Linked DNA regions of Homo sapiens: all the other regions are linked to region 3. The links are contacts of gene promoters, found by promoter capture Hi-C in blood cells and fetal thymus (Javierre and others, 2016). All regions are on one chromosome and are shown on one strand. The core of a region is centred on a gene start or on the middle of the fragment in contact, and the rest is flanking DNA. Distances in the headings are between cores, read along the strand shown.

What was found. The method cuts DNA at HindIII sites, captures the fragments that hold promoters and counts their contacts. A CHiCAGO score of 5 or more calls a contact.
Region 1: a contact is called between a fragment that was not itself captured here and the fragment with the promoter of ROR2 in region 3, in 5 of 17 cell types (megakaryocytes, M0 macrophages, erythroblasts and 2 more). The highest score is 6.7, in megakaryocytes.
Region 2: a fragment that was not itself captured here is called in contact with the fragment with the promoter of ROR2 in region 3 in 8 of 17 cell types (megakaryocytes, erythroblasts, fetal thymus and 5 more); the score reaches 24.9 in megakaryocytes.
Region 4: a contact is called between a fragment that was not itself captured here and the fragment with the promoter of ROR2 in region 3, in 1 of 17 cell types (M1 macrophages). The highest score is 5.0, in M1 macrophages.

The regions. Positions count from the first base shown.
Region 1 is chr9:91,759,354-91,766,606 of GRCh38, reverse strand. All of the region lies in intron 2 of ROR2 (receptor tyrosine kinase like orphan receptor 2), which reads left to right. Among named protein-coding and RNA genes, the nearest start is that of MIR3910-2, 130 kb to the right of the region's middle. The HindIII fragment of the contact is 762 bases long and covers 4,994-5,755 here.
Region 2 is chr9:91,776,137-91,783,194 of GRCh38, reverse strand. The region is part of intron 1 of ROR2 (receptor tyrosine kinase like orphan receptor 2); the gene reads left to right. Among named protein-coding and RNA genes, the nearest start is that of MIR3910-2, 140 kb to the right of the region's middle. RefSeq lists an enhancer at 551-1,050. The HindIII fragment of the contact is 1,964 bases long and covers 4,321-6,284 here.
Region 3 is chr9:91,946,494-91,953,503 of GRCh38, reverse strand. It overlaps ROR2 (receptor tyrosine kinase like orphan receptor 2), which reads left to right and starts at 3,276. Exons shown (of 9, transcript NM_004560.4): 1 at 3,276-3,637. The coding sequence starts at 3,541. RefSeq lists silencers at 2,703-2,997, 3,111-3,290 and enhancers at 3,484-3,983, 3,984-4,485. The HindIII fragment of the contact is 6,243 bases long and covers 1,530-7,010 here.
Region 4 is chr9:91,741,360-91,748,538 of GRCh38, reverse strand. All of the region lies in intron 4 of ROR2 (receptor tyrosine kinase like orphan receptor 2), which reads left to right. Among named protein-coding and RNA genes, the nearest start is that of MIR3910-2, 110 kb to the right of the region's middle. The HindIII fragment of the contact is 7,584 bases long and covers 1,322-7,179 here.

The DNA.
Region 1 (7,253 bases), core at 4,125-6,624, 190 kb after region 3:
CACCAATGGAGAAAGAAATATTGTGCTTAATCTCTAGAGAGCTTTCTTTCCCGCTTTCATGTTTGGCCCCTAGAGAATCGATGACGTTGAAAATGGTGGACCAGACTCATTTGGCAGCCCTCCCACATAAATTACATATGAGTGCTCAATAAAATACTAGTAAAAGATGCAAATGCTTATATGAATGTGCAAGGGAGGTGGAGAAATGCCCAGGAGCCAGGAATGGAAAGGAAGCAGAATTATAAGTGACAGCCCTGGGCTGCCGCAGCAGAAGCCACTTGAGGTAGCCCACTACGTTTGCAGCTTTGGAGAACAGCCCAATTTTCCTAGGTCCTCAAAAAGAGTTTATCTGAGACCAAGGGCCGAATTCTGAAGGCGTCATGGAGTTGTAACATGAGCTCACCAACAGTGAAAAGTGGTGTCACCACATGGCCGTGGCACACATGTGGACGTGTCTGTGGGCCACAGAGCAGAGAGGGCACCAAGACGTGGACACAGCAAATCCTGCAGGGCTTTAATGTCAGAATAGGCTCGGGAACATAAATGCTACACTTGAGAATATGCAGGGATAGGGAAATCCTGATGGAGAGTAAATGAAATAAGAAACCTAAAGTTACTGATTTCACTTGGAATTGGATGTACTAAGTTTCTTCTAATCAGGAGAAATGAGGGACTAGGAGAAAAATCTAGCTTGGTTTTAGGAAAATAAAGGAATGTGCATTTTTTGCACCCTGATATAAGGCCTATGAAATATCATCTCTAATATAGAAACGATTCTGCTAGGTCCAGTTTCATCAAGAGCCTTGGGTTTCCACACCAAGCCACGAGGGAACCCATGGGCTCTACAGAACCAAAGCTTTGTTGACAAGCTTACCTGTGAAGCTAGGAGACCTGCGAGCTGCAGTCCTGGAGAAGAGGGATGAGCACATTGCCACAGGGTCAGCCCCTGGAGGTCAGATGAGAGATTTCCTCCACCCTGGCTCCAGATGGGAAACACAGAAGGCTCTCCCATGAGAAATCAGTTGGGACTGGCATCTCTGGAAGCCAGATTTACATTACCAGCATGCTATAGGAAATTCCAAGCCAAAAAGTTAAGATAAAACTTGGCACTGCCTGTCAAGGGAACCCAGTCCTCAAGGGATTCCCTCAGAAAAACCAGCCTTACAATAAAAAAATTACACAGCACACTTGTCGAGGCCCAGGATGAGTGGCAAGCTAGTAAACAATGAAGCCAGAAGGATTAAAGATGAAAGGAGGAAACAGAAACCACATAGAAGAAAAAGCAGTGGTGGATTTGAAAAGGAACCAAACAGACCTTCTAGAAAAGAAAGATATAGTCCATGAAATGAGAAACTTGATGGGTATGTTACAGGGTAGATGCACACAGCTAAAGACAAAAAGGGTAAGGAGTATTAAAAATAGGGAGAGAGCACAGTGGAATTATCATATGAGGAAAACCAGCATATACCTAGAAGGATATTTAATATTTTATGAAATACTGATAGAGGTTTTATAGAATTGACAGAAAGCACAAATCTTCAGATTTGAGGAAGAGCACTGAGACCTGAGGAGGCTAAAATAAAAATAAATTTACTATTAATGATAGACAATTTGGAATGGCAAAGACAAAGGAAAAATATTGAAAATAGCCTAAGAAGGGGAAAGTTCAGAATACTTGCAAAGGGAACAAGAACTGCAGGACTTCCAACAGTCACCATAGAAGCCAGAGGACAGTATTGCCTCAAATTCTATACCCAACGAAACTATCATTCACGTGTGAAAGTCATGGATGTTTTCAGACCAAGACTAAGAGTGTTTGCAGCCTTAGTCCTTTACCCAAAGAATGAATGTTATTCAGGATGAGCTCAATTGAACCTAAGAGGAAGGAGTGAGATGCAGGATGTGTTGGTGAGGAAAGAAGTTGGTAGATCTCAAAATACTCTGACAGTAAAAATAACAATAATTGGAGGCTTAAAATCAGAGTGTATCTAAGCAGTAGGAAGCAGTTCAATGTGTGTGGTGTGTGTGTGTGTGTGTGTGTGTGTGTAAGTGATTATAGCTCATAGCATTTAAAGTCTTTTGTAATTGGGGGACTTTGCTAAATTAGGTAAGCCTATAAAAAGTAGTTAAGCTAGCCACTTATGTATAACTTTCAAATAAGCAGAGGGGAAAAATGGAGCATTTAAAAATCCAATAGAAGATAGGAAAGAAAAAATAAAAGGCAATGGAAATATTAAAAATAAAACTCATCAGTTAAAAATGTAGACTCAAAATGTAAAATTATATGCCACTTATAAGAGTTATATCTAATACAGAATCATAAAAATGATAAAGATATTAAAAAGATAAAAGTAGGGCTATGTTAACCAAAGGTTCCCTGAGGATGGCTATAATAATATCAGATAAAATGATTTTCTAGGCAGAATTGTTGCTTAGTGATGTATGGACCAAATGATGTAATAAAACTGAAGTTGGGAATGCATCCAGCCCCATCATTTCCCATATATCAACTCAACTTGACAGAATTACTAAAAGCTATTTGACAAATGCAAAGTCTTTGAATCTAGTAGATAAACATATTAAAAATATGAAAAACAAAATCAACAAGCTTGATCAAATGGGCACTTAAAACTCTGCCATGAATGTAGAATAAGCACATTCTTACTACGCATATGTGGACCATCTTCAGGAAGCCGACTCTGCGGAGCATATCTCAGTGGCTTCAAAGAATTGTGATCACACAGACCATGTTCTGTGACAACAGTGCAATTAAAGCACACTTTAAATAACTCATAGCTAAAAGAAAAATGTCATAAGATATATTACACAATATTTGGGTCTGACTAATGATGTGAAGATTAATTAATTGGATGGCTAAAGAAGAGTGGAAGGAAAATTTTACACTTAATGCATACATAGAAAAGGAAAAAGATATAAAATGAATTAACTACAGAAGTTGGAAAAAGCATCAGAATAGAGAGATGAACAGGCAGTTACACAAGGGGAGCCCCAATGACGAGAAATATTCCAAAGGATGTGGAAGCTCACGAGGAATTCATAAGATGCGAACTAAAACTGTAGCGCAGCACCTATCAGATTGGCAAATATTTTAAAGCACCCAAACACCAAATTCTGGCACAGCTGTAGGGAAGCACTTTAACTCAGATATTGTTAGTGAAGTACAAATTGTTTCAAGCACTTTTGAGACTCAGATCAATGAAAGATTTCAAGACTCTATGACACCACATCCAAGTGGATACTTTTTTCCCCTTCCAACTTTCATTTTAGGTTCGGAGGTACATGTACAGGTTTGTGACATGGGTAAATTGTGTGCCGTGGGGGTTTGGTGTACAGATTACTTTGTCACCTAGGTAATGAGCATAGTACCCAATAGGTAGTTTTTTAATCCTCACCCTCCTCCTACCTTCAGTCCTCCCGTAGGCCCTGGTGTCTGTTGTTCCCTTCTTTATGTCCATGTGTACTCAGTGTTTTATTCCCACTTATAAGTGAGAACATGAGGTATTTGGGGTTTTGTTCCTGTGTTAATTTGCTTAGGGTAATGGCCTCCAGCTGCATCCATGTTGCGCAAAGGATATGATTTTTTTTATGGCTGCATTGTATTCCATGGTGTATAAGTACCACATTTTCTTTATCCAGTCATGTATGTACTTTTGAGAGACTCTTGTATATGCACAGGACAAGACATCTATATAGGTGGTCATTAAATGTTACAATAGCAATAATGTGGAAATAGCTTACAGTCCTTCAACTGGGAAATGGATAAGGAAATTGTGGCTTGTTTGTATAATGGGCTATTCTATTACACAGTAATTAAAATAAATGGAGCACATCAACCAACATAGATGGGTGAAATCAACTAGCAAATATGACCTTTCAGGGAAAATTTCTAAAAGCATAAAATAATATAAATATGCATTGGAATGATGCATACAAGTTCTCTGGAGAAAAATAAGCAAGAGTAGGTTTTGGTTGCATTCTAGAATTTTTTTTAAGTGTTCAAAGTGAAATATGGGAAAATTAATGTCAAATCTTTATACGTTTTGTTCATGGTTATTGTTTGATAGCTGTGTTTTTTCTGTATGTTTGCAGCATTTTAGCATTTAACATTTTTAAATCAAAAAAGAATGTTGAAAAAACAATTAGGCAAAAAGATATGGGAGATATGAATTTTGAAAGCAAAAAGGTTATGTTATTGTTATTTGAGGAAGATGGTATCTATGTGGAAAATCCAAGGCAATCAACTCAGAAACTGTTATAACTAAGATAGCTGAGTAAAGTGGCAAGATCTTTAAAAACTTGCAAATGGGATTAAGTTAATTATTTTGAGAAAAGAGGATCATTCTCTCTTATCCGGGTAGGCCCAGTGTAACCACAGAGGTCCTTAGGAAACCGGGGCTGGAAGACTGGATTCAGCAGTAGATGTGACAATGGAAGCAGAGGGTGGAGTGATGCAATGAGGAATCACTGGCCAAGGAAAGAGGGGGTCCCTAATGTTACTGAAACACCGGGGTTTGGTCTAGGTCCTGCTGCTCACCACACGGAAAGCCAATCACTGAGACAACAATTATTGCCAAGAAAGAAGGCTTTAATCCGGTGATGCAGCTGAGGAGATGGGAGCTCAGCTTCAAATCCATCTCCCTGTCTGATTAAAATGAGGGCTTTATATAGCAGGGAAGAAAGGTAGCTATGTGTGGGAAAACAGGAACATGGAAGGGGTAAGGAAGCCATCCTGATGATGGAGGGGCCTAGTGTCTTATTGTCTGGATGTGATGTGATGATCTGGTGAGTTTCAATTCTTTGATACTTTTTTGAGAGGTCCTTTCCTGAGGAAGGGTCAATTTCTATGTTTATCCAAAAGAACTGTCTATGGCAGTGGTCCTCAACCTCCCAGCCATGGACTGGTACTGGTGCGTGGCCTGTTAGGAACTGGGCTACACAGCAGGAGGTGAGCAGTAGGTGAGAAAGTGAAGCTTCATCTGTATTTACAGCCACTCCCTATCAATTACATTACCACCTGAGCGCCACCTCCTGTCAGATCAACAGTGGCATTAGCTTCTCATAGGAGCTCAAACCCTATTGTGAACTGTGCATCTGAGGGATCTAGGGTGTGCGCTTATGAGAGTCTAATGCCTGATTATCTGTCACTGTCTCCTGTCACTCCCAGACGGGACTACTAGTTGCAGGAGAACAAGCTCAGGGCTCCCACTGATTCTACACATTATGGTGAGTTGTATAAATAAATAGAAATAAAGTGCACAATAAATGTAATGCTCTTGAATTATCCCCAAACCAAGGCCCCTACCTCAGGCCATGGAAAGATTATCTTCCATGAGACTGGTCCCTGGTGCTAAAAAGACTGGGGACCACTGGTCTATGGGACTGTTGGGTTGGTTTCATTGGAAACCTGGCAAGGTTTGAGGAAAGCAGTTCTCACACAGAGCCTCTAGAAGGAAGGCAGCCCGTGTCACATGGATATGAGGACTTTGACCCCCATAACTGTAAGATGAAAGATATGTGTTGCTTTACACCCCTGTTTGTGGTAACTTGTCACAGCAGCCACAGGAAATTAGTACACTATGTAGATGATTGCTATCTAATAGTTTCCCTATAAACCTAAAGTCATTTAGACAGAAATAATAGAAAAAGTATTTACAATAGTAAGAAAAATTAGAGAACAGCTAGAAATCTACCTAAAAATATATGTGAAGATCTATATTAAGAAAATTACAAAGCTTTTCTGAATACTTCAGAAGGTCTGAAATAGATACATAGACCATGCTTTCTCAATATCATGAAGTGGGTAGTTTTATGCAAATTATCCATTAAAGTCCTACTTTTAAAATGGAACTTGCTGGGATGATTTTAAAATTTAGAAGAGAAAAGTAGCAATGAAATTGAGAATATTGCCCTCAAAAAGTAACAGTTGTTTTTCTTTTCTTTTTTTTTTTTTTTGAGACAGAGTCTCGCTCTGTCACCCAGGCCGGAGTGCAGTGGCGCGATCTCGGCTCACTGCAAGCTCCGCCTCCCGGGTTCACGCCATTCTCCTGCCTCAGCCTCCCGAGTAGCAAGGAGTACAGGCGCCCGCCACCTCGCCTGGCTAATTTTTTTTTATTTTTAGTGGAGACAGGGTTTCACTGTGTTAGCCAGGATTGTCTCCATCTCCTGACCTCATGATCCACTCGCTTCGGCCTCCCAGAGTGCTGGGATTACAGGCGTGAGCCACCGCACCTAGCCCACAGTTGTTTTTCTTAATGTCCAAACGTACTTCAGTCATCATAATTTAACAAATGTGATGTTGCCACAGCAACAAGCCAAGTGATTTAGTGGGGAGGGGAAAGGCAAGGTTAGAAGTGAATAGAGCTTGTTTTAGATGGGCAGCCAGAAAACACCTTCCATGGAGGGGACATTTCAGCAGGTGTGATACATGAGAGACAGCAAAGAACACTGAGGAGTGGCCTTGGCCAACTGAACAACAAGGAACCAGCTTGCTGTGCTTTGGAGAGAGCAAGGGACTCCCTGTCCAGTGGGGAAGAAGTGTGGGGAGGTTAGAGAAAAATTTGGGAGCGTTGATACTGTGGATATAATCTAGTTATTCTCCATTATCTGTCTTTCTGATTTCTTTCTGAAGGCTCAATTTTACTCACCTACTTGGGGAGACAGCTGTAAATTATCAGGTTACCTAATGATGGCCCCATCTGAGTACTGGTCCCACTGAGCTTCCAATATAATGTGAAGATGGCTGCCTCAAGGCCTGGCTGGAACGTGGTGCTGTCCGTGAGACTCTATCCTGGTCCCTTCCCACCTGGGCAGGCCTTTATATGCCACTGCCTCAGCACCTTCCCAGGTATAGCTGCTGGCCATTTAGCAATATTCTTTTCAATGCTAGTCTGGCCAGAACACAGTGAAATGATATGCTGGGATGGGCAGCCCAGATTATATCAAAACCACCACTTCACATCGTCACAGCAGATTAGATACTGCATTCAACAGAGAAACAAAGACATGGGATCCAGTAGACGGGAGCATGGGGAATGCAGATTCCCCATGCTGTGCCTGTATGGTTGAGTTAATGAAGATCATACATACAGAACTTTACCCTGCCTGATTCAGCCTATCTTTTTAAAGAATTGTCATCAGCATTTTAGTGACCTTCCAGCTTTATGTTGTCAATAAGAAGTACCTTCTATAACTTAATTCAGTGAATGGAAAAGGGTTGGCTAGGAGAGTATCCA
Region 2 (7,058 bases), core at 4,053-6,552, 170 kb after region 3:
AAAGGAGGTCATCAGGGCTCTCATCCTATGGGACTGGTGACCTGTAGGAAGAGAGATTTGGACGGAAAGACGGTGTGCATGGAGGGACAATGAGGAGATGGAAGGAGAAGCCATGGTCTGCCAGCAAGGAGTGACCTGCAGCAGATCCTCTCTCCCAGCCGCAGAAGGAACCTGCCCTACTGACACCTTGATCCTGGCCTTCCAGCCTCCTGAACTGAGACAAGGCGTTTCCATTGTTTAGGCTGCCCCATCTGTGCGGCTTTGTTGTGGCTGCCTTAGGAAACCAACACAGAAGCTGCCTTAAAAAGAATCACTGCTACTTCCTGTGATCATAGCAGACATTTACCCCTGTTTGATTCCAAGACTCTGAAGCAAATTCTGGCTACCAGAGAATCTTCTGCTTTTGAACCCCCTCTGGGTTAGCCTCTGGCTACATGGCCTGGGACCTGGATTCCTGGTTGATGGAGGTGGAGCCTGCTCCAGACCTGGCCTTAACTTAAAGCAAGCTTGTCTAACCCGTGGCACATGCAGCCCAGGACGGCTTTGAATGCAGCCCAACACAACTTCTTTCTTAAAACATTATGAGGGTTTTTTTTTTTTTTTTTTTTTTGCTATCAGCTATCGTTAGTGTTAGTATATTTTACGTGTGGCCCAAGACAATTATTCTTCTTCCAGTGTGGCCCAGGGAAGCCAAAAGATTGGACACCCCTGAAAAGCCTTAAGCAAATGGAAGACATCTGCTTTTGCTGCCAAAGGATAATGCAGTTTCTTTTCTAATCAGGGTGTTTTTTTTTTCTTTTTTACATCCCTCCCTTTAATTAAAAACTTTCCAGAGATTCAAGGTGACAAAGTAACCTTTTGTATGCATGGGAGTAACTAATATTCAAGAGCTACTTCCTTGAAACTAGATGAAAAGATACAATAAACCTGGAGCCTTTACTTAGCATTTCTGTTTGCTCCTTTTCTGCTGGTTTTGGTGCAGAAACAAGCAGCCACTTAAGAGAAAGCAAGCCTCAGCTCCCTGTCACAGGGAGGGGACCTCACCTTCTCACTGTATCTGGTGGGGGTGGAGGTGCGGCATTTGGCCTCCCAGCCCGGCCAGGCTCACCGCTGCCAGGGCTGTGGATGCTGGGAAGAGAGAAGGTCTGTGAAAGGCCTCAATTCAGCTGCCTGAGTGGCCTCTCTCCCCCTTCACCTAAATATTCCTTTGGCCCCTGACAGTGGGCTTTTGTTGGGGGCTCTGGGGGCTGTCAGAGACAGAAAGTAGAAAGAGCTTTATGAAGGCAATATTGAAGGGAGTTGGGCTGGTACATTGACTCACTTGGAGGTTTAATACGTTTGCTTTAGAAGTGGAATCACAGCAAAGTTCAAATTGGTGAAACGGTTACTCCATTTTCAAGTTGATGAGTTTTAACTCCCTATTTCCAAAGTAGAGTTAAGCCAGCCCTTGAAGGAATATAAGAACAGAGGCTAGTATTTACTCAACTCAAAGTTAGAAATAATGAAAATAAAAAATTACAGACTGTTAAGACCACTACCAATTAGGTACTGGCAGCCCACCTGGAATGCTGTTTGGTTTTCTAGCTGCAATTGAAACACAGGGTGCAGTGTCTTAGTAAGAGCATTCCCCGAAACAGTCTCAAGGCTCTTTGCTATTGACATACTTCTCCTGACCCAGGTCCCAGACTAATAATGGCCTTACCCTTTCGGGACTTTATACGCTGCTCCTTCCCAATTTTTAACTTTTCTTCCTTAACTGTTGCCTTTCTAGCATCATGGGTGTTTTCGATCTGACGTGTTGCCGAGCTGAGTAGTTGTTGTGGAACACATGAGTGACATTTGCACGTGCAAGTGGGACAGTGGGTGCACAGAGCTTGCTCGCAGCGTAGCTCATTGTGAAATCTGTCCTTGCCATTCATTCAGGGGGTGTCTGGTTTGCAGCACCGTCACTTTCTCAGGCTGTGCTTTTTCCCTGCCGTGACTTCTGTTCTTAAACACATCCTGCAAATTATACCTTCACATGAGGACAACCAAATCCAAGAATGCCAAGCTCTGGTGAATAAAATACCCTTACTAATTAAAAAGAGGCTGCTTTGAAGTTGTCTGAACATCCTGAAGACTGCATCTAATTGCATCACAGTAAGCATACCGATTCAGATCAACAGGTGAAGAGATGAATGGATGAACAGTCTGAATAACAAAGCATGTTTAAAAGAAACGCAAATCAAAACCAGAATAGCACCATGGACTCAAATCCAAGGGCATAGGTGAAACTTCATTAATAAATGCTTGCTTAATGGTGTGACTGCTGTTAATGAGAGAATGATTGTGATACTAGAGGTAGAGCCTTGGAATCAGAACAGACGTGCTTGCTACTTTGCAGATATAAATTTATCTTTTTTTTGAGATGGAGTCTTGCTCTGTCACCCAGGCTGGAGTGCAATGGCACCATCTTGTCTCACTGCAACCTCCACCTCCCAGATTCAAGTGATTCTCCTGCCTCAGCCTCCCAAGTAGCTGGGATTACAGGCACCTGCCACCACGCCTGGCTAATTTTTGTATTTTTAGTACAGATGGGATTTCACCACGTTGGCCAGGCTGGTCTCAAACTCCTGACCTCAGGTGATCCACCCGAGGCCTCGACCTCCCAAAGTGCTGGGATTACAGGCATGAGCCACCACGCCAGCCCAATTAATCTTATCTTGTTGATGCCATAAATCAAGATGTCACATCAGAGGTCTGTGTTGAAAGAAGGTTTTCAGAAGAGTTTTGTTTGATGGTTATATAATTTCTTTCTTTCTTTCTTTCATTTTTTTTTTAGACGGAGTCTTGCTCTGTCGCCTAGGCTGGAGTAGTGTGGCGTGATCTCGGCTCACTGCAAGCTCCGCCTCCCAGCTTCACGCCATTCTCCTGCCTCAGCCTCCCGAGTAGCTGGGACTACAGGCTCCTGCCACCATGCCCGGCTAATTTTTTGTATTTTTAGTAGAGACGGGGTTTCACTGTGTTAGCCAGGATGGTCTCGTGATCCACCCGCCTTGGCCTCCCAAAGTGATGGGATTACAGGCGTGAGCCACTGTGCCTGGCCTGGTTATATAATTTCTAATTCTTCAGAATCTGCACCTCCAGCTATTGCAGGCCTGATGTGACTCTCTTAACAGCAACCGGGCATCATCCCTATCAACAGTGAACCCTTTCACTTTGGCCATTCTGTAGACACCAATTGGTTCAGCCTGGAATATACAAGACATTCATAAAGTGCTTCCAAGAATATGCTACAAATTCCTGCTTAAGAGCTGATGTCTCCATGCCAATGACAATTCCTGTAGGACTCAGCTGAAAAATCCAACATTTTCCAAAATGTTTTAATTTCTAAATATTTGCCAGCATGCTGTATAAATCATTGAATAACATATTAAATCCAGTGAATCTGTGTCAGATTCTGTTCATAGGGTTAGGGTGCATACTTGGCTTTGAGGCCATTTACCAGGGATTGCATCATTAAGAATGTAAAGTATTGGCCAGGCACGGTGGCACGGTGGCTCATGCCTGTAATCCTAGCACTTTGGGAGGCTGAGGTGGGTGGATCATTTAAGGTCAGGAGTTCGAGACCAGCCTGGCCAACATGGTGAAACACTACCTCTACTAAAAATACAAAAATTAGCCGGGCGTGGTGGTGGGCACCTGCAGTCCTAGCTACTTGGGAGGCGGAGGCAGGAGAATCGCTTGGACCCGGGAGGCAGAGGTTGCAGTGAGCTGAGATCCCACCACTGCACTCCAGCCTGGGCAACAAGAGCGAAACTCTGTCTCGAAAAAAAAAAAAAAAAAAGAAAAGTATAAGTGTTTGGAGGTAGAATGTTTTATGCAGTTCTACTTGTGAGCCTTGGTTTTAAGGGATTGAACAAGGTGATGGAAATGTGTAATTGTTCTTCAGTAAGCTTTTTACTTTAGTTTTAGATTTATAGAAAAGTTGTGATGACAGTACATAGAGCCCCCACACACCCCACACCCAGTTTCCCCTATTGTTAACACCTTACCTTGGCATGGTACATTTGCCCCATAATACGGGTGCATTATTCTTGACTAACGTTCACACTATTCATTTTCCCTTAGTTTTTACCTAATATCCCTTTTCTGTTCCAGGGTCCTGACCAGGATACCACATTATATTTAGTCTTTGCTTCTAGAGTGTCATGTGTGTTTTTGACATGGATAAAACTAGATATTGAATGTGTCATTTCATTATACCAGCCACACTTAAATTTTTGTTTCATATTAAATGTTTTCCTCTCTTTAAAAAGTATCAAAAAACTAAAAGAAGCTTATAAATCACTACTCCCCTACTCATCTACCCAAGGGTTGAGTTTCCCTCTGGCTTCACCTCGCCACTCTGTGATGTTTTTACAGTGAAAATGACCCAGGTCCAGCGGAGAAAAGTCAGGGCACTGTGCCTGTCATACGGATGACATTCTTGATGGTCATGTAGGGCACACTTAAGAGCATTTTACCCAAACGGAGGACGTGTGGGTTTGGCTAGAGTAGTGTCCTCATATTCAGGAGAAAAATATATTGAAGTCCTGAAGAGTCAGGACAGATGAATCTCCTCTCAGAATCTCTTTTCTGATGGTCCAGAAGGCCACGTGGCCTCTTCTCTTGCTCCTCCAGCTAAATCCAGGCAACTAACGAGGACAGGGACCTTGCCTGGTGAGCTCATCATCTAGCTGGGGTGCAAGGGTGCCTGCACCAGGTGAAAACCGAAAAGGCCTTTATGTAAAGAATGACTCAGGACAGGCACCGAGGAGATGTTGCAGGGCGCACGACCGTGATCATTCACCAGCCATATCGGGTTGGCAGTCACCACCAAGGCAAGTTGTGGTGTTGTGAGGTTGTCACAAAGTCATTCGGTCAGGAACGATGATAGCCCATTAGGTGCAGAAGCACGTGCTCAGTATGTGTACCCATTGCAACATCCGTTGTGGTGGCCCCTAAACTGGCCAAGTTGAAAGTGTTCCCTGATCCTGCGAGTCACCAGCCATTCCTCCCAGCTTGTGTGCAGCAGGAGTGAGGGCATGTGCAGGTCTCCTTACCAGGCCAGCCTGGCTGCTCCTAAATTGCCCCACCTTGGGAGCAGCAATCCTAGTAGCTCTGGCATTTTGGGGTAGTTCCTCCCTTTCATACTTCAGTCATCTCTGCGGCCTCATGTATGTTTTCCACATCCCCTTCTCCTTGTGGAGACAGACCCCCCGAGTCTGGGAAGTGGTCTGAGTGAGCCAAATTAATGGCCTTGTTTACTAATCCCGTGGTACAGCATGCTTTCTTCTTTTTTTTTCTTTTTGCTACTACAGGGCATGCATTTTGAAAAGTATAATTATAAAATTGATGCTTGTTTAGAATACTGCATATTATATGATTTCATTTATAGAAAATGTCCAGAATAGGTAAATCCATAGAGACAGCAGATTCGTGGTTACCAGGGGCTGAAGGAGACAGGATAGAGTTGGCGGGGGGATGACTGCTAATGGGAATGAGGTTTTTTGGGGAGATGATGAAATGTTCTGGAATTTCATAGTGGTGATCGTTGCACAACCTTGAGAATGTACTGAAAACCACTCAATTGCACACTTTAAAATGGTGAATTTTATAGTGTGTGAATTATGTCTCACACACCATTAAAAAATTGATACTTGTTCACAGTAGAGCCATTTAAATGGAAATAAAAGAAATTTAAATTACCTATAATTCCAGATAACTAATAATAACATTTTGATGATGATGATGATGATGATGGGGTGTGTGTGTGTGTGTGTGGCAGTTTTGTTGTTATTATTTCCATGTTTTGTTTATTTTGGAGGAAAGGTGGTATTCTTAGCTCTTTTTACGGGTTAGGAGAAACCCTATTGGGTTCTGCTGAAAACACTGAGCCCTGTTTTCACTTGTACCCATTCTACTAGTTCACATACTTCCTGTCACATTTTGCTTATTGACTTTAGAAGGCTGCAGTATCTGGAGTGAGCCCAAACTATGTAGTATAGGAAGATAACACTTTAAAATTTCGAAATATAAGTGGTGTCTTAGTTTCTCAGATTAGCAATAACAACCTAGTTTTGTTGAAACTTAAAGTGTCAGTTCTAAAGATCTCGTGATTGGACATGCTGAGTTTATTAACCACATTTGACTGGCAGAGGAAGTGAAATTTCCACACGTGAAAATGCCTCCATTTCTGAATTAGAAGCTGACTTGGGAAGAGCTAGGACTCTTTTCCACAGGGAAATTGGGCTAGTGAAGCTTATTTTTCTTTGGGGTATGTATTTATTTGAGTGTTTCAGACCATTTGTCAATTTCTAAGCAGTTAATAATTTTTGTCTCTTTTCGATGTGTGTATATAGTGCAAGTATGTTTGATTTCATGTGGTCTCTCTACATTTAAACAGTGCTGAGTGATGGTGTGTGTAATGTGCTGATGTAAAATTTCAAATCCAAACTGAAGTCTTTAATACTTCAGCAGAAGTCCATGGACTGCCTTGCATAGCTGATGTCAGCCTCTGTTATGTAGCAGGAGGTGCTTCTGTCTGGGTTTCCATGATGGGACCACTCGTCCTCCCCCAGGGGTGCAGCACCAGCTGTCCCCATGTGGTTTACCTATTGTTGAGGAAGAGTAAAATGCATGCAACTGTTAACCTGAGGAAGAATGGTAGGATTGCCCCGGGAGAGGTGTATGGTTTGCAGGGAGACTTAGAGAATAGAAACTTTTCTTCTAAATGGCTGGTCATGGACATTTTATGAAAGATGGCTCAGGGCTTGGCTTTTGGGGACGGGTAAATTTGGACTAGAAATGATAGGAAGAATGGAAGTGAAAAGCCACAGCGCCCATTTATGTCCTTTACATTGTGGGGTGGGTACTTGGCTGCTGCCAGTGGGTCTGGGGATGGGGAGGGGAATGAGTTGCTTAAGAAATTCTCCAACTCTGAATTTATTACCCAGTTACCAGGACCTCCATCTGGAGGGCAGTCTGCGGCATCTGGCTACAGAAGTGTTTGATTTTGCCAGCCAGTGCTTTGGTTT
Region 3 (7,010 bases), core at 2,027-4,526:
ATTAAAAAAATGAAAACTAGCCAGAAACTGGAAGAAAATATATCTGTCTCTTTGAGTTTTCACTCAGAACATACAAAAAAGAGCTCTAAAAACTTTTTTTTGTTTTGTTTTGGAGACAGGATCTCACTCTGCAGCCCAGGCTGGAGTGCAGTTGTGCAATCATAGCTCACTGCAGCCTCGTACTCCTTGGGCCCAGGTGATCCTCCCATCTCAGCCTCCCGAGTAGCTGGGACTACAGACGCTCACCACCATTCCTGGCTAATTTTAAATTATTGTTTGTAGAGACAAGCTCTCACTATGTTGCCCAGGCTGGTCTCGAACCCTTAGGCTCAAGTGATCCTCCCACCTCGGCCTCCCAAAGTATAGGGATTAGAGGCAAAAGCCACCATGCCTGGGCAACACTTGAAAAGAAGAAGGCATCCAACCTTATGAAAAAATCAGAGAAGAAAAGAAATTCCATGATTTGAGGGAGACAAAGAATAAAAATAAAAATAAATCAGCAAAAATTTGACTAGACATCTGACAAAAGAAGGTAGGCTAACGGCCAATAAGCATAAGAAAAAATATAGAATATGACTCCTCATCAGGAAAATGTGAATTAAACCACATAATTTAACCACCCAGGTCTCAGATATCCCAGGATACCCCTGGCCTTGAAATCTTCACACTGGCTCTTCACTCCAGCTCAAATACTCTTCCCAGATATGTGCATGGCTCCCTCCTTTCTTAAGGCCTGCAAGGGCTTGTTCCCGCCGGTCTTGCTAGTATAGACCCTGCTCATTTTCTCTCCCTCTTGCTTGCTGTTCATCACAAGGATGAAAATGGCTGTCCCCATACAGCTGGTGTGGTGTCAGCCTCCAGTGATTCCTATCTCTTGGTATATATAAACCTGTTTAGTTTCCTTCTATGACAAAGGGCCCACCCATGGAGCCAATAGATACTGCAGAAATTATGGCATGTGACTTCCAAGGCTAGGCTATAAAAGACACTGTGGCTTCTATCTGGCTCTCTTTTGGATTGCTCACTTTGGGAGAAGCTAGAAGCCATCTTGTGAGGATGCCCAAGAAGCCCACGTGGCTACAAACTGAGTCTTCCCATCCACACCTAGCACTAACTTGCTGAGCATGTGAGTAATCCACCTTGTGAGACTCCTCTAGCCCCAGCGAGCCTTCAGATAATGGCAGCACTGGCTGACATCTGACTGCAACCTCCTGAGAGACCCTGAGCCAGCACCATCTAGCTAAGTCTCTCCTGCCTTCTCGACCCAGAGAAATGGTGTGAAATAACGAATGTTTACTGTTTTTAGCTGTTAAATCGTGGGGCAATTTGTTATGTGGCAATTGATGACTAATACAGATGGAAAGGAATATGTTGCTCCAATTTGGCCTTGGACGTAAGCCATATTCTCTTAACCACTGAGAAAGCTTGTATTTTCATCCTTCCAACTTTGCTTTTTTTGTTTATCCTTCAGTTCAGAACCTACAGAAAGGGAAGGAGAGAGTGAGAGAGAAATGCCAAAAAAGAAAGCTTTAAAAGGCTTTTAAGAAATCATATGCAATATAACCCACATTTCTGACTCCACCCAAGAAACTGTCAGCAAAATATATGTTGCTGTTTAAACCTTTGAGTTGGGTTTGTGGGGCCTCAGTCATGTGAAAATAACACACAGATGGGGGCATGATGAGGTCATTTTCCTGAAGGTCACACAAAAATAAATGGCAGGGCTGCTGATGAAATGGTTCTGGAGCCACATGCTCACGCTGTGTGAAGTGGAAAGCAAAGGTGCTGGGACCACCTTCTCCGAGCTGCACAGCACCACGGAAAGGACACAGCATTGCTGAGGGAGGGGTTTTCCAGGGCAGGTTCAAGACCCTTCTCTGCAGCCCCTGTTGGGTTTTCCCTAGATCCAGAAGAGAGGGGTGTGGAACTAAGTGCTTCAGCACCTACTCTTAAAACATTACTCTAAAAGCATCCTTAAGGATTCTAAGGGAAGCTAAAGGGAGGAAAACCCCAAAGATAAACCCCTGGCAGTCCTCTAACCACTGGGGAGAGCAGCCCCCCCGTTCAGACCCGCACCAGCCTGGGCAGAGGAACAGCCTGAGCCCGTCTAAGAAGTTTGGTAATAATTTTGCCATCCAGTTGAGGAGGGGCTAGGATCTTCTCCCATTCTCCTACTGGATTTACAGCAGCTCCTGGGAATGAGAACTGCGTGAGATATTTCCCTACACAAATTGGGTAGAGATAGCCGGACGCCTAAATACTTTTAACAGAGGTAACAAGCTAGAGCTGGCTTAGTCATTTTGTCCGCAGACCATAGCAAGAGAGTTTTTATTTCTGGCCACGTCTGAGGCCTCACGTCTGGCACCCAAGGCCAGGGCTCTCCCTAATGCCCTCCAATTAACAGAGCTTGGTACTCCAGCAAAAACACCAAACAAACTGCTGGATAATCAGTTAAAAGATCAATCTCATGGAACAAGCAACTGAGATGCTGGAGAATCCAATTCCTTCCTCTAAGAGGAAAAACAAAGACATTTGCATGTGCTGAGCAAAACCAAGAATAAGCAAGAAAACATGCTATTTGAATTCCGTTCAAAATGTCTCTAATAAGTGAAGCAAATTCTGCACATTCTGGGCCTCTGCAGAGAACAAATAGTGTTCTGCCTTTAATGGGTAAAATTATACAATTTGCTTTTAACAGTAAACCAAAAGCCGCGGTGGCTTCGGATAGCATCGCGCTCCCGAGGGCTCCCTCCACGCAGCTCGACCCCTGGCAGTTTTGAGCATTTCGGGGGACGCGCTTGTCCCCACCGACCTGGGAGGGCGCCGGTGCCAAGGCGGCCTGTTTGTTTTCCTGAACATTTCCTTTTGCAACTTTCGCTTCTCCTCTTCCTGCCTCACCGCTGGTGTCTGGGGCTGGGTGGCTCTCAGATTTGTCCCGGTGCGCAGTGCAGCCTGGAGTTACTGATTTGTGACCTAGATCCCCGGGTGTGTCGCCCCCGAAAGTCGGGGGCACCCGCTCTGGGCGCCTCTCCTGCGTGGGCAGACCCGCCGAACTCCGGCTGACGCCCCCAAGGCGCCACCTTTGTGTTCAAGCGTTCCGAGGCGCAGGCCCGAGGGCGGGCGCAGGAGGCAGGTCCGGGGCCCCAGCTGCAGCCCCAGCTCCTTGGGTCCCGCCCGCCGCCCGCGCGTTCCCCCGGCAGGGGGCGCCGGCGCAAGCCTCGCTCTGCCCATCGGGGCGGGCGAGCGGGGACCCTGCCTCCTGCGCGCTCGCCCGCGGTCCGCCCCCCGCGCTCGTCCTGGCGGCCGGCGGGACGCCCCAGCCCGCGCCAAGGAACCTCCCCAGCCAGCCCTTGCCGTGGCCGGAGCCGAGCGGCGCATCCGGGCCGGAGAAGAGGACGACGACGAGGTCCTCGAAGTGGACCCGTTTGCGAAGCGCCAGGGAGAAGGAGGAGCGGACGCATCGTAGAAAGGGGTGGTGGCGCCCGACCCCGCGCCCCGGCCCGAAGCTCTGAGGGCTTCCCGGCCCCCACTGCCTGCGGCATGGCCCGGGGCTCGGCGCTCCCGCGGCGGCCGCTGCTGTGCATCCCGGCCGTCTGGGCGGCCGCCGCGCTTCTGCTCTCAGTGTCCCGGACTTCAGGTAGGATCTGGCGTTCCGGCTTGTGCGCAGACGGTAGCTCACGGCTCGCTTGGCCAGCCCTTCCGCCGCCACTATGCTCCCGGCCGCTGCGCCGGCGCCCATGCTCCTGAACGAGGGGCGCCAGGCAGGGCCATTCGCATCTCGCCCGACGCCGCTCCCGGCCCGCACCCCGGACCCCCTCGGGCTGGTTACAATAAGCCGCGCTCTGGGGACGCCTAAGTGTTTCCAGAGTCTGGGGGCGGGCGGCGGCGGCTGGGAGCCTCTCGGTGGCGCTTCCCGAGGGTCGCGAGTGGGAGTGCGAGTGTGAATGTGAGTACCCGCCCTGGGCCCGGGACCCGAGTCCGCAGATGTGCCCCGAGGGTCCCAGGACCCGGGCTTCCTCCCCGAGGTCTTCCTCCTTCAAGGGCACACGGCCCCGAGTGTCCCCCGTCTGTCTCGGAGCGTCCCCCCACCCCCAGGGCGGCCTGATGCCTGGCAGAATCCTGGGGTGGACGTGGCCCCGGAGAAGCGGCTCTTGCGGCGGGGGTGGGGGCGCCGGCGGCTCCCGGGTCCTGACTTTCCCAGCCCGCGGGCCGCTTGATGGAAACGGGCTCTTTGGCATCCCTTTTGTTGGTCCCTGAAACCTCCTCTCCCCCACCGCTCTGGGGTGGCCGAAGTGGTGTGTGATCTGGATTGAAATGGTTTGTGACTGGGATCGCGGGTCCCTGAGCGGCTGGGGCGCGGCCGCCTTCTGGCCGCGCCGGGGGGACCCCCGGGACCTGTAGGAGGCTGGCGGCGGGAGGGGCGGGGCCCGGCTCCTAGGTGGGTTTCCTCCCGGGGCCCCACTTCCCCCGAGTCCCTGCGCGGTTTCGGCTGCTTGGATCCGGGGCGCAGAGGAACGGCGGGGAGGTTCGGAAGTGCAGCTTGGGACCTGCCTAGGTTGCCTGGAGGAGGCGGCGTTAGCTCTGGCGGTGCAGACTCCGGGAGCACCTCCCGCCCGCGCGCCTCGGGCCGGATTCTCGGCACCCTGCGGGGGTGGAGGAGGGCGGGCGGGGCCTTCAGGCCCAGGAGCGCCAGAGACCTATGGGGTTCGCCTGAAGCCCCCGGAATGTGTGAGACACTTCTTACTAGTAAATGGGCTTCAGTATCCCCCATCCCTGCACTCCTGCAGGAAGGTGAGAATCGGGACAGTCGCAGGCTGGGAGACGCTCTGCTTTTCCTGCGTCCTGCTGGGAGCTGCGCGCTCCAGGTATCCTGGCCTGCCGCCCTAGCCGGCCCAAGGTACGCGAGTCAGAAAGGCTGCACAGTCTTTCCTGGGGGGGGGTTTTAGTTTAAGCAGATGTTGATTACGTCAGACATTCCTAATTACTTGATTTGGGAAGGGAGCTTGCGTTTATCTCACTGTGCATTAAAGCATAAACCGCTCAGAGTGCACAATAAAATAAGTAGACCACATTCTAAGTTGGTATCCATCACTCAAGACCTCTGTCGATTTCTGCAACCCCTCCCCCAAGAATCTCCCAGGAGATCCCTTTGCTGGGGGAGAGGGGTGGCGGGGAGGCGGCTTAAACACGTTGCTGGACGTGCTGTTGGGCGGCTTTTGCTGTTCACCCTGCGGTTAATTGTCCTACAAAAACTCTGCCTTGCAGACCATGAGGGTTGAGCGCAGCCTTTGAGGGGCGGTGCTGTGGTGGGGGTTTTTAGATGGGTGATGAGGAAAGCATGATGGGTCCATTGCTTAAGCCAAGGTGGTTGTAACAGGAAAGTTCCTTGAGTTTTGGGTGAAGGAATTTAAACACTCATAGTTTCCAGTGAATGTACAAATGTCTTATATGAACAAAGCAATTGGAGTCGTTTTCTTTAATTTTTGAACCCTGTTCTTTTTCTAGTGAAATACTCATAATCTTTATAGGAGAGGGCATAGGATATAATTCTCTTCGTTCTGTATGGCTAGGTTAACAAAATCCAAAGAGTATGATAATTTTTATTCAAAATAATAATAAAATTATATGATTACAGGAGATTTGAGTGTTTGGGATCTTTTCTGCTGTGAAAAGAGGAGTCCCTGTTATTTGAGTGTGTTTTATCCACGAAATAATTTATTATGTAAAACTATTTAGGGGTTTTTCTAAAAGGATTTGTAAGTTCTTATTCCACATTTTAATAGCAAGACTCTGTTTCCTCTGATGACAAATACTGATTTGGGACTATATACCAATCCTAGGTAGGGTAGGTGGGGAACGATGGAGCATTAGGGTCCCCCCAGCCCCCATTTTTGGCAGTGTAGTGTTTACTTTTGGCCCAGATCCCTGGAGTGATGGTGGTAATAAATAATGATAGTGATCCGTCTAGAAGAAATCCATCTAGAAGAAAATAAATGGAAACATCTTGAATAAGAAGACTTTGTGGAAAAAGAAAAGTTTTTATGTATATAGTAAGGCAACATATTTTTCTTATTACGGCTGTGTACCAAGCACAGAGCTACACATTTGAAATTTTTCAGTATAATTGTGAGATCCTGCTTAACTCTCATGTCCACTTCATAAAGCATGTCACCCTGAAAATCTGATCGCCGTGGACCCTATGTGACACTCAGTGTAACTGAGAGGGCTCTGGAAAGCCAAGCTGAACTTTTAATTAGTAAAGCAAATCATGGAAAACTGACAAGTCTGCTTTATATTTTATATGTAAAAAAGCAACATGGGTTTTTTAAAATGTGCGTTTTCCAGGGGTAGTTTTTGGTGACTGCTCTGCAGATTTTTAAGGCAATGTTAAACAACATTTTTATTTTTATTGTGAAACCTTTTTTTTATTGTTTATTCAAAGTGCTGCTGTAATTGGTGTTTGTATGTCTCTCTCTTAAGTGTGGTTTGCAGTGAATCACTTGTTGCCCCTTAAACAGTTAGCCTGGATTTAACCTCCAAGAGATTAAGTCTGGCAGAGTCTGAATTTTACACTGCTCTTTTCTTTGGAAGCTCTTCTGAAATCAGTGGAATAGAAATACAGGGGTACGAACAGCTCATCTGACAGGTAGGGAAGATTAATCCCCTTTAGAAAGGTTTCAGCTGGTGGACTGGCACTCCTTTAAAATGCATTCCCTGAGAGGCCAGGATGGGAAAAGTTATTAGTGAAATGGGAACTGGATGTGAAGGACTTGAGCTCCCTAATCTGCAGGACCTGGCTAGTCTGTTGTAGTGCTGGAAATTTGTGTACTCTTTGTAATCCTTTCCCTTGGAGAGTTCTAATTATATAATTCCACATTGTAGTCAGGGAAAAGAAAGTTAACGCTACAAACTGTTACTCCTTCCCAGGGTTTATAACCATCTTCTAAAATGGTTCCTTGATGACAGGCCTTTCCTTTTGGTGTTTATCTGGTTCATTCCCTGGGAACCTG
Region 4 (7,179 bases), core at 3,864-6,363, 210 kb after region 3:
TCATTATTTTTTCCTGAAGTATCTTTTGGATTTTTTTTCCATGGGGGAATTAAAGTTTTCTACAAATACTTTTTTCTATTCCCACCTTTATGTATTCAATAAAAATTATCTATATTCCAGTGTACAACACGATGTTTTGATATATGTGTACATTGTGAAATGGCTAAATCAAGTTAATGGACATATGTCTCACTTGACAACTCATCATTTTCTTGTAGTGAAAACACTTAAAGTCTATTCTCTTTGGCATTTTTTTTTTTTTGAGACAGCGTCTCGCTTTTTCGCCCAGGCTGGAGTGCAGCAGTGCACAGTCTTGGCTCACTGAAACCTCCGCCTCCCAGGTTCAAGCAATTCTTCTGCCTCAGTCTCCCGAGGAGCTGGGATTACAGGCGTGCACCACCATGCCTGGCTAATTTTTTTGTTTGTTGGTTGGTTTTTTAGTAGAGACAGGGTTTCATCATATTGGCCAGGCTGATCTCGAACTCCTGACCCCAGGTGATCTGCCAATACATTGTTATTCACTATAGTCATGTTGTAAAACCGATCTCTTGACCTTAGTCCTCCTTCTAACTGAAATTTTGTATCCTTTGACCAACATCTCCCCAGTTCCACAGTCCCAGCCTCTGGTAACCACCACTGTGCTTTCTGGCAGAGGGCTTTTCCACACGAGGACATCCTTTGACTTTGTAGTGTGTAGTAGCAGCCCACTGGCTGTCATCTTTCTGCAGCCATGAGTTTCTTTTCCCCAGTGACCCTGATTCTGTTTCAGTAGACTGACTCCTCCCCCGCCCCACCGTGATGATATGCTTACGATATCTCTGGACCTTAACCAAAGATAGGAGAGAATCAGTGAGCTTAAAACAATAATCCACAGTTTCTCTGATTCTTTTACTCGACCAGTTTATCAATCAGTGACACCTCTTTTGGGCCACTTCTATAGAAAATGCACAACAGTTCGCATTCTTTCATTGTTGGTCAAGAGGTGTGTCCTGTCTGTATAAATGGAGAGTTGAACAGCGAATAGTAGTATCGCCTTGGCTTAGCCCTGTGTGCAGCGTGACAGCAAGACATGGTACCATGGATTCTTAGCCATGAACTCTGATGGTTGCTAACTCAGGCCTTCCACTCGTGGCTCTTCCTTGGGTGCTGCCCTGGCCTGTCCACACGCGTGAGCGCTGTGATGTGTGGGACTAAAGCTTGTGCATGTTGAGGGAGGTGGATATCCTTGAAGGTTAAAGGATTTACCACCATAAGACATTGCTTTCCCTTCTATCCCTGTTTAATTGGGGGTGAGGAGGGTGTGTATATGGAGAACAAAGCTTGAAGAAAAGGCGGTGCCTCCACAGATGGACCTTCCGAGGCCCGGGTTATCCAAGCTGACTCAGCGGCAGTGTTGGTCGTGCTTGGAGATTAATGCTAGGCTGCCTGTCTCATATTTCATATGTGGGTTTTGTTTTTCCTGCTCTGCTGAAACGTGGCACATTTAGATGAGTATAGGCCCATACACAGGTCCTGCTTCTAGTGGGAGGGAAGTGGTGGGGTGGGGCGTGCTGCCTTCCCGAAGTCAGAGCACCAGAGCCCTTGGCTGGCGTGTGTTGCTGTCCTGGACCCACCCCATGGCCCACAGGTGTGTGCATGCATATTGTGCTACACACACACACACACACACACACACACACACCTGCTCAAGGAAAGTGTGTTATTCTTTTGAATAATGAAAAGTTATGTTAATTATTGGCCTCTGGGAAATCACCTTCCTGGGGCCATGGCCCTGTTATTTTCTTATGGGAACAAGAATCAGTTAATTCCAAGACTTCAGCCGTTCTCCATCCAGATGTTTGTGACCCGGGACTCCTTGTTTTCAAGTCTGACTTATCTCCCCAGCTCCAGCCCCATATGTTTCACCCACATAATGAGCCTCTCCAGGTGGATGATTTGAAGGCACCTCTCGCCAAGTGGATGATTCGAAGGCACCGCTCGCCAAGTGTGTCTACACGGAATTCGGCCAGCTGCCAGCCCAAACTCCTTCCATTGCTATTTTCGGGGAGTTTTCATAAGTCTAGTTCAGAGTTTATCCTAATTACAGGAAAACAGCACTATAAAATTGAAAGTGCCAAGTAAGAAGCTGGTAATTAGAAATGACGTGAGCAGAAACCAGGCCAGGCCAGGCATGGTGGCTCAGGCCTGTAATCCCAGCACTTTGGGAGGCCAGGGCGGGCTGATCACTTGAAGTCAGGAGATGGAAACCAGCCGGGCCAACTTGGTGAAACCCTCTTTCTACTAAAAATACAAACATTAGCCAGGCGTGGTGGTGCGTGCCTGTAATCCCAGGTACTAGGGAGGCTGATGCCTGAGAATTGCTTGAACCTGGGAGGTGGAGGTTGCAGTGAGCCGAGATCACACCACTGCACTCCAGCCTGGCCAACAGAGCGAGACTCCATGTTTTAAAAAATAAATAAATAAATAAACAAACAAAAAAACCAAGCCACCTTATTGCTGACAAACTCAGGCAAAAGGCTGACATTTGGCATTTGATATTAAAGCCCTCAGACCACCAACCTAATCAAGTTCAACTTAATTCAGACAGAACTTGAAGGAGGGAAGCCAGTCTAATTTTTTTCTCAGTGACATCTTTTTATGGTAAGTTCTGTTTTCTAGAAAATACAACTTTCCTTAAATCCCATAGTACAGAACCGGAATAAAAGCTAGAAACTGAATTTAAGGTTATGTGATACAAGCAGTAGGTGACTAAATAGACAATCATCAGTAAGATAATTCGAGAATAGATACACATTTCTAAATGCAGACTATAGGCTGGGCGCGGTGGCTCAATGCCTGTAATCCCAACACTTTGGGAGGCCGAGGTGGGCGGATCACCTGAGGTCAGGAGTTCAATACCAGTCTGGCCAACATGGTGAAACCCCATCCCTACTAAAAATAGAAAAATTAGCCAGGTGTGGTGGCACACACCTGTAATCCCAGCTGCTTGGGAGTCTGAGGCAGAACTGCTTGAACCAGGGAGGTGGAGGTTGCAGTGAGCTGAGAGCGCGCCATTGCACTCCAGCCTAGGCAACGAGCAAAACTCCATCTCAAAAAAAAAAAAAAAAAAAAATAGGCTGGGCATGGTGGCTCATGCCTGTAATCCTAGCACTTTGGGAAGCCAAGGTGGGTGGATCATCTGAGGTCGGGAGTTTGAGACCAGCCTGACCAACATGGAGAAACCCCGTCTCTACTAAAAATACAAAATTAGTCCGGTATGGTGGCAGATGCCTGTGATCCCAGCTACTTGGGAGACTGAGGCAGGAGAATTGCTTGAACCCAGGAGGTGGAGGTTGCAGTGAGCCGAGATCGCGCCACTGCATTCTACCCTGGGCAAAAAGAGCGAGACTTCGTCTCAAAAATATATATATATAATATAATTAATAAATAATAAATGAGACCATATGGTGACACAGGATATTTGCATTTCAACAATAATGAAAATGTGCACACTTGATGTGCACTCACACATGGAATGCCGCTTTAGGTTGTTTTGTTTCCACCCGAGCCCGTGGATTCCAGGGGCTAGCTCTTACACCATATTATGCACAGTGAGAGCCTTTTACCAACTGACTTCAGGGTTTTTCAAGGATACAGCAACCTTCCAAGGGGGAAAGTGTTTGGCTTACCTGGGAGGGACTAGCCACCTGAACAGCGTAGGGGAAAATAAAATTTACTTCCCAGGGAACTGGCACCCTCAGAGCCATTGTCTTCTCTGCCTCTGGCCACCTTATGTGATCCTGGCCTTAGAGGTGGCCATTGCAAAAGCCAGTATTTCCAAGGTTCTGCTGACTTGGATTTTTATGATATCAAACATTGGTGTTGGGCATGTTTAGTTGGATCAAGTGGATGTTTTTGCCACATCTGTTATCAGTACAGTCAGATATTCAGAGTATTTCATTTTGGAAGCAGAGAGTAATATACAGCGTCTAATTCTCAAGGAAATCATTCATTCAGTTAACACATTTCAGCTTCAGCTGGGCGTGGTGGCTCACGCGTGTAATCCCAGCACTTTGGGAGGCTGAGGTGGGCTTATCACCTGAGGTCCGGAGTTTGAGACCAGCCTGGCCAACATATGATGAAACTCTATCTCTACTAAAAAATACAAAAATTAGCTGGGTGTGGTGGTGACTGCCTGTAGTCCCAGCTACTTGGGAAGCTGGGCAGAAGAATCAACCTCCAGGAGGTGGAGGTGGCAGTGAGCCAAGATCGTGATACTGCACTCCAGCCTGGGCGAGCGACAGAGCAATACTCTGTCTCTCAAAAAAAAAAAAAAAAAAAAAAAAGTTAACAAATTTCTGTGGAGGGTCAACTGTGCGCCAGGTCCCATTCAAGACATTGAGGATACAACAATGAATGCAACAGATAAAAACTAAAAATTCCTGCCTTGTGCTGTTGACATTTTGTTTGGAGACTCTTATGTCTGGCCTCTTTCATTAAATGTAATGTCTGAAAGATTTATTCTGGTTAACTATACAGCACTTCATTCCTGTTTATTGAGAAGTATTCTGTTGTATGAATGTACTACAATATGTTTATTCACCTATTGATGAGCATTTGGGGGCAATTATAAATAAAGCCATGAACATTTGTTTTCACATATTTTTGTGAACATGTTTTCATTTCAATATTGTGATTTTTGAAGTTTCAAGTGTGGAGGCCTTGGACATCTTTTGTTAGGTTTATTCCCAGGTATTTTAACCATTTTCAAATATAGAGTGCAGTGGCATTAAATTAACCCCAGTTGGTCCATGGGCCTCTTTAGTATTGTCTGTGTTTATTTTGCTGGATTCAGTTTGCTAATGTTTTGAGGAGGACGTTGCCCCTTTTGATGGTAGGCATTTTGGTCTGTAACGCTCTTGTGGTGTCCTTGTTAGATACTCTTGTGATGTCCTTATCGTATTTTTCTTTTCTTTTTTCTTTTTTTTTGAGATGGAGTCCTACTCTGTCACCCAGGCTGTAGTGCAATGGCATGATCTTGGCTCATGGCAACTTCCACCTTCCAGGTTCAAGCGATTGTCCTGCCTCAGCCTTCTGAGTAACTGGGATTACAGGCACGCATCACCACGCCTGGCTAATTTTGTATTTTTAGTAGAGATGGCGTTTCACAATGTTGGCCAGGCTGGTCTTGAACTCCTGACCTCAAGTGATTCACCTGCCTCGGCCTCCCAAAATGCTGGGATTACAGATGTGAGCCACTGCACCCGGCCCTTATCATATTTTTCTGATGTCCTTGTTAGATATTTGTATCAGAGTTGTCAGTCTTTTTGTCTCTTTGCTTCAGTTTGGAAATCTCCTGTTGATCTGTCTTCAAGTTCATAGATTTTTTTCTTCTGCTGTATCCACTCTGTTATACAGTCATGCATCATGTAACAGTGGAGATACGTTGTGAGAAATGCATTAGTGATTTTCTCCTTGTAGGGACATCATAGAGTGTACTCACACAAACCTAGATGATTTCCCCTACTGCACACCTAGGCTATATGGTACAGCCTGTTGCTCCTAGGCTACAGACTTGTACAGCATATGACTATACTGAATACTGTAGGCAACAGTAACGTAATGGTATTTGTATATCTAAACACAGCAAAGGTACAGTAAAAATATGGTATAAAAATTAAGAAATGGTACACTTACATAGGGCACTTACCATGAATGGAGCTTGCAGGACTGGAAGCTGTTGCTGGTGAGTCAGTGAGTAAGTCGCGAGTGAATGTGAAGGCCCAGGACATTACACATTACTGTACACTACTGTAGACTGTGTAAACGCTATACATTTAGGCTACAGTGAGTTTATTAAAAATTGAGTAATTGCACTACAGTGTTATGACAGCTCCGATGTCACTAGGCGATGAGGATTTTTCAGCTCCATTGTAATCTTAGGGGGCCACCATTGTGTATGTGGTCTGCTGTTAACCAAAAACATCGTTATGTGGTGCATGGCTGCACCATCCAATGAATCTTTTATTGTAGACTCTTATGTTTCAGTTCTAGGCTTCCTGTTTAGTTCTTTTATAGTTTCCATCCCTCCTGAAATACCCCACATCTTCACTACACCTTCTTCTGTGTTTTCCACATCTATTACTTTAAAGCCCTGTGATACGGTTTGGCTGTGTCCCCACCCAAATCTCAACTTGAATTGTATCTCCCAGAATTCCCACATGTTGCAGGAGGGATCCAGGGGGAGGTAATTGAATCACCCACATGTAGCGGGAGGGACCCAGGGGGAGGTAATTGAATCATGGGGGTCGGTCTTTCCTGTGCTGTTCTTGTCACAGTAAGTCTCACGAGGTCTGATGGGTTTATCAGGGGTTTCCACTTTTGCTTCTTCCTCATTTTTCTCTTGCCGCTGCCAATGTAAGAAGTGCCTTGTGCCTCCCACCATGATTCTGAGGCCTCCACAGCCATGTGGAACTGTAAGTCCAATTAAACTCCTTTTTGCTCACAGTCTCAGGTATGTCTTTTATCAGTGGTATGAAAATGGCCTAATCCAACCTGCTCTGCTGATTCTTACATCTAGGTTATCTTTGTGTTTGTTTCTCTTGACCACGGGTTATATTTTCCTGTTTCTTTGCATGTCTGGTAATTTTATTGTATAGTGGACATCATGGTTTGTATGCTAGGTTTTGCATTCAAAGTAAAGAGTATTGAGTTTTGATACAGCTGCATATTAGCTTACTGTCAGAGCACCCAATGCTTAGGGAGTTTTTGCTTTGTGAATGTGGCTGGTCTGCTCTGTCTCCTGGTGAGTCACAGATTGAGCTTCCTCTGCTTCACCTAGGCAGGCAGCCCATTTAGACAGTCAGCCTCTCTCATAATAAGATAAACAATTATGAGAATGGGTTACTACTTTGTAACAAAACAATTAGGGGAAAATGTTAACTTCCTATGCAATATGTAGCTACATTTGAATTTTGACATGGATTCCTTTTCAACCTTAAAAAAGCCTTAGTTTCCTTTAAACCTCCTTCATTATTAATACCCATGAATTTTTATTCTCAGCATGTGTCATCTAGGGGAAGGCTGTGGATCCCCACCATCTTGCCAGTCTTGGTGGAGGAGCACCTGCCATCACAGTCTGCTGGCCCCTGCCTCTGTTTCTCCCTGATCTCCTACCCCTCTCCTGTTGCTTTTCTTACC